Linked DNA regions of Homo sapiens: region 1 is linked to region 2. Evidence: promoter capture Hi-C in human tissues and cell types (Jung and others, 2019). All regions are on one chromosome and are shown on one strand. The core of a region is centred on a gene start or on the middle of the fragment in contact, and the rest is flanking DNA. Distances in the headings are between cores, read along the strand shown.

Region 1 (6,908 bases), core at 4,285-6,784, 42 kb before region 2:
ACACTTGAGGTCAGGAGTTCGAGACCAGGGTGACCAATGTGGTGAAACCCCATCTCTACTAAAAATACAAAAAAATTAGCCGTGTGTGGTGCTGCATGCCTGTAGTCCCTGCTACTCAGGAGGCTGAGGCAGGAGAATTGCTTGAACCCAGGAGGCGGAGGTTGTAGTGAGCCAAGATCGAGCCACTGCACTCCAGCCTGGGTGACAGAGCAAGACTCTGTCCCCAAAAAAAAAAAAAAATGGAGCAGAGCTGGGCAGATTGCGCAAAGCCCTAAGTGTGAGAGGTGACTAGCCCAGGGCCAAAAGGGGTGTGACTGGGATGACACTGGCAGGGGGTTAGTTCTCCTCTTTGGGGAGGGGTAGTGGCCAGTTACCACTGTCTCAGCAAGGTTTAGAAATTCAGGAGCTATGGGACAGGGCCAATGACAAGGGGCCAAAGAATGGGGAAAGGGGGAGCTGCCAGGTCTCACTGGGAAGATCTAATGGTTATTGGGCCAAGGGGAGTGGAAGGGGTTACAAAGAAAGTGTGAGAATAAATTGGGGAGGGTGTCAAGGAGCAGCAAGGACAATAAGGAGGAGGCTGGGGTGACACTGGAGCACCCTCAACAAAGAGGGAGCATGGAGGCTGCCAGGCCTGGAGACCTGAGGAGCAGCAGGCAGAAGGGGGCCCAGCCCCAGGGAGATGGTGACAGCACAGAGATGCAGCAGGGGCACTGGGCAGTGCCAGGCTGTGAGGCACCAGAATATCCAAATGCACAGTTGGGAGCAGTATCAAGGACTAAGGCAGCTGTGGGGTTTAGGGAGACAGTGAGAGGCACCCCCGAAGCCTACTGGGGCAGAGCAGGAAGGAGCTGGGGCTGGAGCCTGGGGAAGCCAGGACCCTGGGGGAGTCTTTAGGAGCTAGCACGGAAGGCTTGGGGTCTCCCCTGAGGTTTACAGGGCGGGGTGCTGTAGAGGGTCAGGGGATGGGATCAAGAGAGAGGGTGACAGGTCAAGGGGGTCCATAGGGGTGAGCTGAGCTCATGGGCTTAGAGTTGCGTAGATAGACTCTAATCCCAGGTGCAACATTAGCTTGCTGTGTAACCCTAGGCAAGATCTTGAACTCTCTGAGCTGCAGTTGCCTCATGTGAAATGAAGATTGTAACTGAAGCCAGGTGTATCATTTTCCAAGAACTGGGTGGCTCGAAACAACAGAAATGTATTGTCTTACAATTCTGGAGACTGAAAGTCAGAAATCAAGGTGTTGCCAGAGCCATTCTCCTTCCAAAGGCCCCAGGGGAGGACCCTTCCTTGACTCTTCCAGCTTCTGGTAGCCCCAGGAGCTCCTTGGATTGTGGCAGCATTACTCCAATCTCTGCCTCCTTCTTCACATGGCTGTCTTTTTTTTTTTTTTTATTTTTTTTCAGTATAGGGTCTCGCTCTGTCACCCAGGCTGGAGTGCAGTAGTGCAATCTTGGCTCATTGTAGCCTCCACCTTCTGGGCTCAAGCGATTCTCTCGCCTCAGCCTCTCGAGTGGCTGGGATTACAGGCATGCGCCACCATGCCCAGCTAATTTTGTTTTTTTTCTTTTTTTTGAGATGGAGTTTTGCTCTTGTTGCCCAGGTTGGAGTGCAATGACGTGATCTCGGCTCACCGCAACCTCTGCCTCCTGGATTCAAGCAAGTCTCCTGCCTCAGCCTCCCAAGTAGCTGGGATTACAGGCATGCACCACCACCCCGACTAATTTTTTTGTATTTTTAGTAGAGATGGGGTCTCTCCATGTTGGTCAGGCTGGTCTTCAACTCCTAACCTCAGGTTATCTGCCCACCTCCGCCTCCCAAAGTGCTGGGATTATAGGCATGAGCCACTGAGCCCGGCCAAATTTTTGTATTTTTTAGTAGAAGCGAGGTTTCACCATGTTGACCAGGCTGGTCTCAAACTCTTGACCTCAAGTAATCTACCCGCCTCAGCCTCCCAAAGTGCTGGGATTACGGGCATGAGCCACAACGTCCAGCCTATAGTAGATTGATTTATAATCCTTTATACTCGGTAATGGGATTGCTGGGTCAAATGGTATTTTTGGTCCTTGAGGAACCACCACATTGTCTCCCACAATGGCTGAACTAATTTACACTCCCATCACCAGTGTAAAAGCGTTCCTATTTCTCCACATCCTCTCCAGCATCTGTCCTTTCCTGACTTTTTAATGATCGCCATTCTAACCGGCGTGAGATGAAAAGAAAATTTCAGGCCAATATCCCTGATGAACATCGATGCAAAAATCCTCAATAAAATACTGGCAAACTGAATCCAGCAGCACATTAAAAAGCTTATCCACCACGATCAACTCGGCTTCATCCCTGGGATGCAAGGCTGGTTCAACATACGCAAATCAATAAACGTAATCCATCACATAAACAGAACCAACAACAAAAACCACATGATTATCTCAACAGATGCAGAAAAGGCCTTCAATAAAATTCAACACCCCTTCATGCTAAAAACTCTCAATAAACTAGGTATTGATGGTATCTCAAAATAATAAGAGCTATTTATGACAAACCCACAGCCAATATCATACTGAATGGGCAAAAGCTGGAAGCATTCCCTTTGAAAACCAGCACAAGACAAAGATGCTCTCTCTCACTCACCACCTCTATTCAACACAGTATTGGAAGTTCTGGCCAGGGCAATCAGGTGAGAGAAAGAAATAAAGGGTATTCAAATAGGAAGACAGGAAGTCAAATTGTCTCTGTTTGCAAATGACCTGATTGTATATTTAGAAAACCCCACTGTCGAAGGGCATGGTGGCTAAGGCCTGTAATCCCAGCACTTTGGGAGGCTGAGGTGGGCAGATCACAAGGTCAGGAGATTGAGACCATCCTGGCGAACACGGTGAAACCCCGTCTCTACTAAAAATACAAAAAAATTAGCCGGGCATGGTGGCGGGCGCCTATAGTCCCAGCTACTTGGGAGGCTGAAGCAGGAGAATGGCATGAACCCGAGGGCGGAGCTTGCAGTGAGCAGAGATTGCGCCACTGCACTCCAGCCTGGGTGACAGAGTGAGACTCCATCTCAAAAAAAAAAAGAAAACCCCACCGTCTCAGCCCAAAATCTCCTTAAGCAACTTCAGCAGTCTCAGGATACAAAATCAATGTACAAAAATCACAAGCATTCCTATACACCAAAAATAGACAGAGAGCCAAATCATGAGTGAACTCCCATTCACAATTGCTACAAAGAGAATAAAATACCTAGGAATACAGCTAACAAGGGATGTGAAGGACCTCTTCAAGGAGAACTACAAACCACTGCTCAAGGAAAGGAGAGGACACGAACAAATGGAAAAACTCTTTTTAATTTAATAACAGCTGCAAAGCACCTATTTCCAAATAAGGTCATATTCACAGGTACTGGATGTTAGGATTTGAATATATCTTTACAACAACCCTAGGGCGTAGGGTTGCTGTAAGGATTTAACCACAGGCCTAGAACATGGTAAACTCTCAATAAATGGTAGCTTTAAAAAGAAGGGCAGGCTAAGGGAGGCTGAGGGAGCTCAGGCTGGCAGACTTTCCCTGCATGTGTCCACATACTCACACACGCACAGGAGGCAAAGGACCACCCATGGAATCCACCCAGGAGGGCCAGGACAGGGGACTCAGGGGCCTCAGCCTGCACTCACCTGCTCAGCAGAGCTGAGCTCAGGGCATAACGTCAGCTTCCTGGGCAGAAGAGCTGCCAAAATCAAAGCTTTGCTAGTCAGAAAATTCCTTGGGAATGTTGAGCAAGGCCACCACTGACATCATGTGCAAATTCGCAGACAGCCTCTGCACCTAAGGCTACTCAGACCCACAGCCTTGGCTCGATGGGGTGGCAGACTCTGTATGCCACCAGCACACCCACCCACAGGGCAGAGGGGTCAGGACATAGAATCAGACAGGCCCCAGGGACCCCAGTGAAGATTATAGGCAGCCATTCCCCACTCAACAGAGGAGAAGGTCAGAGCCAAGTCTGACATTCCCCCATCCCCTCTCCATAACACCCATGCATCTGGCAGTCAGACAGGCCTAAGCTAAACCTTTCCCCCCCAGCTACCCACCAGGGTCATCCCCAAGCCAGGTCAGGGCCAATGGAGGTTGGGGTGGAGAAGACAGGCTTGGCCCTATTTCCTGCCCAACTCAGAACCTTCTGGTTTCTGCCACAGGATGCCTTGCAAGCTTATCGGGGTCACTGTGGGCAGCTGGGTGAGCTAAGTTCATCTGTGCTGCCGTGACCTCTGTGCAGATGCATCAAGAACACAGAGTGCTCCGGGGTTAGGATGAGGGCAGCGCTGATAAGGTTCATGGAACCAGTGACAGAGCACACAGCTGCCCACAGAGTCACTCCCCTGTGCCCCAGCCTGGACACCTCAGCTCCCTCTCAACCCCTTCCCGAGGTGCTAGATGTATATGGGACCAGAAAGCCCCCTCTGTGTCCTCCTGTGTGAGAGCCCAGCTGCTTAGGTGTTTGTGACTCTGGGCACCTGTGGGCCTGAGATTATGTGTATCTGAGAGATATTCAGGGCGTGCATCTATGAATGTGACCAACAGGCTGCCCTGCCAGGGCAGGCAGGGGTACAAGAGTAGGGGTGGAGGAATTGGGGGATGGGAACAGGTTGCCCCACCAACATCTGGGGCAGGACCATTATGGGCAGAAGGGAGCAAAGGCCTGAGGTGCTCTTGAGGATTTGCAGGGTGGGTTTAAGGGACAGAAAAGTGAGTTGTGAGTGAATGTCAAAGAGGTCGGTGGGCCTTGTGGACTCCTGTAAGAACTTGGCTTCTACCTTGAGTGACAGTGAGCCCTGGGGGTGCTTTGAGCAGAGAAGGAACTTCACGCAGCTTAGCTTTTAAAAGATCACTCTGGCTGCTCTGAGATAGATCAGTGGTTTTCCAAGTGTGGTCCAACAGCAGCACCTGAGAACTTGCAGAAATGCAGATTCTCAGGCGCCCTGCTAAATCAGGACACCAGGGGCAGGGCACAGAGATGGCGTCACAGGAGCCCTCCAGGGATGGCTTATACCCCTCCAGCAGCCTTGCTGCAGGGCTCCTGGAGAACTCCAACCCCACCAGACCCCACCAGATAGCTGCTATGAGCAGAATGAGTTCTGTGGTCAGCTGCATGTGGGAAATGAGGCTCCTGCACTCACACCCCCTAAGTTCTCTCAACACACAGCTTTTTTTTTGTTTTTTCTCTCTTTTTTGAGACTGAGTCTTGCTCTGTCACCCAGGCTGGAGTACAGTAGCGCCATCTTGGCTCACTGCAACCTCTGCCTCCCAGGTTCAAGCGATTCTCCTGCCTCAGCCTCCTGAGTAGCTGGGATTACAGGCGCCCGCCATCACATGCTCAGCTAATTTTTGTATTTTTAGTAGAGATGGGTTTCACCATGTTGGCCAGGCTGGTCTTGAACTCCTGACCTTAGGCGATCCACCCACCTCGGCCTCCCAAAGCGCTGGGATTACAGGCTTGAGCCACCAAGCCCAGCCTAAACACACTGCCTTTTAAAGCTTCTCCAAATCCCACGAAAAAGAAACCAGGTCACCTTTGCTCAGGCCAAGTGAATTATATAATACCCTTTCTTAACTTACTTGACTATGGAATATTTTTTCCAGAGACCACTTCATGAACATAGACCACACTGAAAAATGCTACTTCAGGTACATTTTGGTTTATTTCTCCAGGCTCCTACACTGCGCCTAACACAGAGTGACCACCCAACAACTGCCCTTTGAAAAATGCATGAAGCTCCCCCATGGTGACCCTGATGAAATTCAGGTGATTTATAAACCAACTGACCTTCCCCCAAGCTCTGGAAGGACTTGGCTTCAGCACCTCATACACTGACTCCCTGGGCTCCCCTGGGAGTCCAGGGGTCTGGAGGTTCCAAGCACAAGAAGGGGAAGAGGGAGGGGTTGCCGCCTTGGCTTTCACGGAACAATGACCTCTCTGGTGCTCAGGGTCCCCACCCTGCCTGAGCTCAGGGCCAAGTCACAAGGCAGCTTCCGTAGAAGACTTTTTTTTTTTTTTTTGCCCCGAGAACCCCCCACTCAGCCCAGATGATGTGTTGTTTGTAGAAAGCTTAAGTGGGTCCCAGGAGGTCAGTCCAGCCAGCACCTGCCTCCAGGCTGGGCAGCCACTCCTCTGGTCCTTGCACACAGCCGGGCATCAGGCCTGCCTCAGGGGCCCCTTTGAGGCCTCAAGAACAACTGAGCTCTCCTTTGTTCCCAAGGAAATCTCAGTGGAGGCCCTTTCATTAGTGAGAGGCACCTGGCCATGAAGTTCAAATAGACTCAGAAGCCCGAAGGTCCAGGAAATGCCAGAGGGGCCACAGAATCACAGCTTTCCTCATCACGGGTGCCAGAAGAGCCTTGAAACCACCAGGTCTATGCCTGTATTAACAGATGGAGAATATGTACAACTATTATACATCAATAACATTTTTTTTAAAAACAGGTGGAGAATCTGAGGTCCAGAAACAAGACATGACTGTTATGGTCACACAGCTTGGCTCTCATGCCCTTGGGATCTCCCTGGTCCACGCTCTGGTCAGTTTAATAGTTCTCAGGGGTGTACAGAGCCATCGGGACAGACCTGAGCAGGATGGCCACAGAGGAGGCAGGCAGAGGGAGGGCCAGTCAGGGGCTCTTGATAGTCCTGACTTCATCAGGAATGAGCGCAGGGGAAGGGATCACGATCCCAGGGAGCCAGGCTGCACTTGCGGTAGGGAGGTGGAGGTGAGGGGTGAAGCAGAGCAACCCTGCGGCCCTGCACAGCTCAGCCCGTGTGTGTGACCCTATGTATGATGACGTCCCAATCATGGCACACCATGGCTGCACATGTGTGCCTCTGTGACAAGGTCACAGCCCCCGAGGCACGCTGTGACTACACC
Region 2 (6,169 bases), core at 3,240-5,739:
ACCAGGCAGGCAGAGGTGAGGTGAGTGTGGAGGTGGCACCGTGCAGGATTCCGGCTCACGGCTATTCGGCCGTGGGTCCCTGGCAGAAGTTCCGGTTATAGAAGTGGTGGTTGTCCCTGGTCAGGGCCATGCCCAGCTGGGCCCAGAAGCTGCGCTGACCACTGGGCTGGTGGGGCCAGAGGAGGACACTCTGGCGGCAGAGGCGCTGGCGCAGCCGCACGTAGCGGGAGCGGCGGCCGTCAGGGCTCAGGATCACCAGCACCACGACGTCCTTGCGGTCCTCCAGCAGGCGCTGCTGGGCCAGCAGGAAGCTGGCGCGCAAGAGACCACTGACCCGGTCCGTGTGGGCCAGCACAAACAGCGTCTTGCGGCTGCCATAGACCGAGGCCCACAGGTTCTCAAAGAGGGTTTTGCCAGGCAGCCAGTCGCGTTCCTCCAGGCACAGGCGGAGTGCCCAGCGCCCACGGCACTCCTCCAGCTGCCCCCGAAGCTCGTTGTACACCCAGTCTGCCACTGCGCTCTGCGTTTTGTCGAAGACCACGAAGGCATCGTAGGGCAGGGCATCCTCATCTCGCCCACTTTGCCGCCCCCGCCAGGGAAGCCAGGCCAGGCACAGGTGGAAGCAGTACCAGAGGTCCCAGCCACAGAGGTGATGCAGCATGGGCACACCCAGGCCCAGAGCCACAGCCAGCAGCGAGAGGGCGAAACAGTCCCAGGAGAGGGCCTCATCCAGGCAGAGGCGCAGGTCCTGTGCAAAGATGCTGAGGCCCTGGAGCTGGCCCGGACTGCCACACTTCACCCGGCTGGGCAGACCGGGCACGGCAGCCTGCACCTCCAGCAGGAAGTCCATAAAGGCCGCCCCACAGGCGCAGTGCAGAGGGTTGGCGCTTACATCTAGTATTTGCAGGGCACTCGCCAGGGGCCCAAACCAGGAGTGGTCCACTGTCTTGAGGGCGTTGGCGCTAAGGTTGAGCTCTCGCAGCTCCTTGGCCTTGGAAAAGAAGCCGGGGGCCACGAAGCTGATGCTGTTGCAGCTGACATCCAGCCTCCGGAGCCGGGTGCCAGCAGGCAGGCTGCCATTGGTCAGGGCCTTCAGCTGGTTTCCTGCCAGGTCGAGGACTTCCAGTTTGGGCAGGAAGTGGAGGCTCCACCACTTAAAGAAGGCCAGGTAATTGTCACGGAGACGCAGCACCTGTAGGCTCTTGGGGAGGTTGCGCAGGGTTTGGGGCAGGAGGGTGTGCAGGCGGTTCTGGGACAAGTCCAGCCAGATCAAACCGCTCAGGCCTTGGAAGAAGTGCAGATAGAGGTCTCCCTCGGCCCACATATGGCCCAGTGCATTGCCGCTGAAGTCCAGGGCCCGCAGCGACGTACTGCAGAGCTGCTGGGACACTTGGCTGTGGATGTTGTTGTGGGCCAGGCTGAGGTGGCGCAGGGTGCGCAGGTGAGCCACGAAGCTGAAGTTGTGGCCCACGCCCTGCATGCCAAAGGGCTGGCTGTTGTAGCTGAGGTCCAGGGCCTCCAGTCGCGGTAGCTCCGTGAATGAGTGCTCGTGGTAGAGGTCCAGCTTATTGTGGGACAGGTCTAGCACCTGCAGACCGGTCAGCGGCAGGAACTGGGAGCCATTGACTGCCTGCGAGATGCAGTTGTGGCTCAGGCGCAGGCACTGCAGGTGCGAGAGCTGGGCAAACATCTCCGGCTGCACGGTCACCAGGTTGTTCCGTGACAGATCCAAGGTGAAGTTGAGGGTGCTGCAGTTGGGCCTGAAGTCTTCAGAGCTGGGAGTGTCCACTGGGGCCGGAGCAAGGTCCCCAGGCTGCAGCCAGACCTTCTCCCCTCCATCTGCCTCCCCCATGGTGGCTGTCAGCTCCGAAGCTCCGCTGATGCGGTTGTCCGACAGGTCCACGTAGCGCAGGCCAGGGAAGGCCCTGAAGATGCCGAGCTGGGCCTGGTTGATGAAGTTCATCTGCAGACGCAGAGTCTGGAGCATGGGCAGGCGGGCCAGTGGCCGGAGCGTGGTCTCATCGAGTGAGCGGAAGAAGATGCCGTGCATGTCCAGCTCCTTCAGGGCGACCAGGCTCCCGAAGGAAGGGGCCAGAGACAGGTGGGCAAAGGACACCCTCTTTTGGTAATTGAAGGACAGGTTAAGCTTGCGCAGCTGTGTTAGGCCCTGGAAGGCCTTGGTTTTAGTGATGCATTTGTAGAGGAAGTTCTCACTCAGGTCCAGCACTCGGAGGTTTCCCAGCCCACGGAACCAACTGGCATTCAGCCAGGAGAGAGAACTGTCCTTCAACACCAGGCCTTCAAGACGGCTCAGGTGGCTGAAGGTATCGGGATGTAGCTGGGGGAAGTGACGAGGGCACTCCATGCAGGGGTTGGGAGCGTGGTCGCAGCGGCGGCAATTTCCGCCCACATCGAGCACACGCAGGGCGGTCAGATTGGCCAGGTCCTCAGGCGCCAGTTTGACGATGCGGTTGTAGGACAACAGCAGATACTCCAGGCTGGAAGGCAGGTTGCGGGGCACCACAGTGAGGTTGTTGTACTTGAGTGACAGGTGGGTGAGGTTGCCCAGGCCAAGGAGGGCACCCGGGGCCACCTCCAGTGCCTGCCTGCAGGGGTTCTTGTAATAACAGTTGCCGTCCATGAATAGGAAGCGCAGGGCATGCAGGCCGGCGAGGCTGGCAGAGTCTAGCATCAGGATGTTGGTATGGCTGAGGGACAGGGATATGAGGGATTTGGGCAGCGCAGGCACAGTCATGATGTTGTTGTAGCTCAGGTTTAGCTCTTCCAGGGTGGGCACAGCCAAGAAGGTGCTGGGCTCGATGGTCATGTGGCAGGGGAAGTGCATGGGGCTGAGGCCAACCGGCGGGCAGTTCCACTTGAGGTTGAGATGCCGCAGGCTGGGCAGGTGGGCAAAGTCAGAATCATGGAGGTGGTGGATGCGGTTGGAGGACAAGGAAAGGCTGGTGACATTGCCACGGGGTGCTGCCATGGAGAAGTGGGGCACAGACTTCAGGAACAGCCAGTTGCAGTTCACCAGGCCGTGGGGCTGGAGCTCACAGGGTAGGAAGGCAGGCAAGGTACCCAGGGCCAGGGTCATGGCCAGCATGATGGCCTGCACCAGGAGAGACAGCGGGTGCAGGGCGCTGCGGCAGAAACCCTGTGGGGGTGGGAGGGCTGTGTGAGTGGCCGGCCCCCAGCTCTACCTCCACCCACTCCACTTCATGGGCATCTTCTAGCATCTTCCAACCCCTCTCTCCAAGCCCTACCTGCAGAAGTTCTTCCTGGCTGCCAAGCCCCATTCCCATCCCCCATGGCTTGTGGGGAACCTGAACTCAGTCTCAGACCCAGTCTTGGACTCAGAATTAGGCTTCAGAACCAGGACTGAGACCTAGAATCCAGACTTATGATCTACAGCTTTCACTTAACCAATCCCTGGCTATACCAGGCCAGGCAAGGTGGCCCACGGCCCCCCCTGGTCTCTCCCCGACTTTCCCTTCCTGCTCCTGAGCAAGGTGGCAGCTGGCTCCCTCCCCTCCAGCTGCCCTGAAATCCGCTCTCTGCCCTCCACCAGCCACCCCACAACCCCTTCCTTTTCCTTCGGCCAAGATTCAGGCAGGTGTGAGAGTCTCCCACTATGGCCCAGGCCGGCTGCCTCCCAGGGACCCTGGCCAGAGGGCACTGCACAGCTCCATCACTCTCTGCCTGCCTCACCTAGCCCGAGAGCCTTTGCCTTATGGGTCAGAACAGATGGAGAGAGGGGTGGCCTGCAAAGTGCCAGACAGAGCCAGCCCCAAGCTACAGGCCCAGTGAGACCCAAACCCAGGCTCCAGCCCCAGCTCCATCAGTGCCTCAGTCTCCTCGTCCCCTCTGGGGGTTTGGGTCTCATTGCTCAGAAGAGGGCTTCAGTGGCTGGGCACGGTGGCTCACACCTGTAATCCCAGCAGTTTGGGAAGCCGAAGTGGGCAGATCACCTGAGGTCTGGAGTTCAAGACCAGCCTGACCAACATGGAGAAACCCTGGCTCTACTAAAAATACAAAATTAGCCAGGCATGGTGGCGCAAGCCATAATCCCAGCTACTTGGGAGGCTGAGGCAGGAGAATCACTTGAACCCGGGAGGTGGAGATTGCAGTGAGCTGAGATCAAGCCACTGCACTCCAGCCTGGGCAACAAGAGCGAAACTCCGTCTCAAAAAAAAAAAAAAAGAAAAAAGAAGAGGGCTTCGGCTCTGAAGTCTTCAGGATTCAGTGAGTGTCCCCAGGGCCATGTGGGTGACAACCCGTCACTGTTGCTTGCAGCTGCCAAGCCCACTTCTTTCCCCACCCCTTCCCAGGATATCCCCTTCCCCAGGGGACTGAGAGCTGTTGTCCTACCATGCTGGGGGGCAGGGGCTTCTCCAGAGGGTCTGGCGGGCAGACTGGACAGCAGCTACAGGGAAGGATGCTTCACACTCGAGGTCCCTTCCCACAGGGGCAGCAGCGGCTCAGAGAATAGAGGAAGTAAGATTTTTATACCAGCCTAGTAGCTCCCCCTCCACTCCACCCTGCCCCCAGTGAGGAGGACAGGGTCCCATGAGTCAAAGGCCATTTGCATAGTCAAATGGCAGACAGCTCCTTCACCCCTTCCTCTTTCCACTCCCCTCTCAGACAGCCTACATCCCATGAGGGCCTCACACCTGTCCTCTACCAAGCCCAGGGAGGAGCTAAGGCCCAGAGCTCAGGCAGAGAGCAGGGAGAGATGGGAATTCTGGATAGCACCAGTAGCGGGTACACCTTGCTGGGCACTCCCCATTCTAAGAGGACACTTCCACCCTCAGGTCTTGGCTCCTGCACCACAGCTGGTGCCCTCAGGACAGCGGCTGCCGACTTGTCCTTTTCTGCCCTTGTAGGCACCATCTCCAGAGTTCTGCAGGGCCTCATGCGTGGAGGGCCAGGGTGTAGCTTGAGCAGGAGGCTAGGCTGCACCTGCCTTCACCACAGCCTTGCAACATCTTCCGGAAACAAGACCTCCTCCTCCACATTCCCAGAGCCCCTGGGGCCCCATCAGAGCACACACCACGTCACTCCAGATGGGGCTCCTAGAGGCCAGGTGTGTGCTGGCCCAGCAGGGCCGCCAGCCAGTCCTCCCCATCAGTTCTTCCCACTCTCCTTCTGATCTAGGTGAGGAGACTCAGATTCCTCGGGCCCAAAGCCTTGGGTGACCCCGGGCCCCTCAGCAAGTTCTGCTGGGTCCACCATGCTGAAGGGTGTGCCCACAGCCCACCGTCCCCATGTCCACCAGCCCCCATCCTCTCTCCTAGACCCATGCAGGTGCCACCTCCCTTCTGGCTGTCCTGCCCTGCTCTCTGCCCTCCAGGGGCTGGTCACATTCAGCCCCTAGAGGGAACTGTTCAAACCTAAGTCACACTAGGTCCCTCCTCTGCTCAGACCCCTCCCTGGCTGACTCTGGAGTCAAAGCCACAGTCCACAGATGGCCAACAAGGCCCTATGGGACCTGCCACCCGCTGTTCCCCTGAGTGCTCTCCAGGCCCACTGGCCTGCTTGCAGTTGACTGTGTAGCCCCTGGGCATTCTCCTGCCTCAGGGCCTTGGGATGTGCTGTTCCCTCTGCCTGAAAACTCCCCCAAGTCTCATATGACCCCTCCTTTGCCTCCATTATGTCTCTGCTCCCATGTCACCCTCTCAACAGGGCCATCCAGCCTTCTTACAAACCTCCCACCCCAGATCTGGCACTCCTGAGCTCCTTTGCCTGGTCTATGTTTCTCTTTGTCCTAACATTTTTTAACTGCTAGCACACCGGATCATTGATCTTTCATGGTTTATTGTATATCGTCTTATTCCCCTGCTGGAATGTCAGCTTCTTAAGGGCAGTGATCTTTTATCTGCATCCCCAGGATCCAGTACAGTGCCCAGCACATAGTAAGTGCTTGATATCTGCTGAATTATGTACACCCAGCAGTCAGCTCTGGGCAGGCACAGAGAGGGTATTTCTGAGTGAAGGCTGAATGAATGAATTAATGAATTGTTGCTGCTGGGAGGAGGCAAGGCTGCACATCTGCCAGCCTGCTCCCCCCAGGCCCACTCTGGGTGGTATCATGGCAGGCAGGCTCCATAGTGCCAGGCATCTGGCTGGCTCAGCAGCAGGGGGCGATGGCATCGTCTTCCTGCCCACC

The links. Contacts are between HindIII fragments. The study calls those that stand out against the background at their distance.
Region 1: a fragment that was not itself captured here is called in contact with the fragment with the promoter of TLR9 in region 2 in 2 of the 25 tissues and cell types used here (adrenal gland and liver).

The regions. Positions count from the first base shown.
Region 1 is chr3:52,178,051-52,184,958 of GRCh38, forward strand. No RefSeq gene overlaps it. Among named protein-coding and RNA genes, the nearest start is that of ALAS1, 17 kb to the right of the region's middle. RefSeq lists an enhancer at 6,469-6,908. The HindIII fragment of the contact is 5,026 bases long and covers 3,022-6,908 here.
Region 2 is chr3:52,221,156-52,227,324 of GRCh38, forward strand. It overlaps TLR9 (toll like receptor 9), which reads right to left and starts at 4,490. Exons shown (of 2, transcript NM_017442.4): 1 at 4,372-4,490; 2 at 1-3,157. The coding sequence starts at 4,374. The coding sequence ends at 62. RefSeq lists enhancers at 4,270-4,369, 4,622-5,123, 4,880-4,969, 5,124-5,623. The HindIII fragment of the contact is 19,187 bases long and covers 1-6,169 here.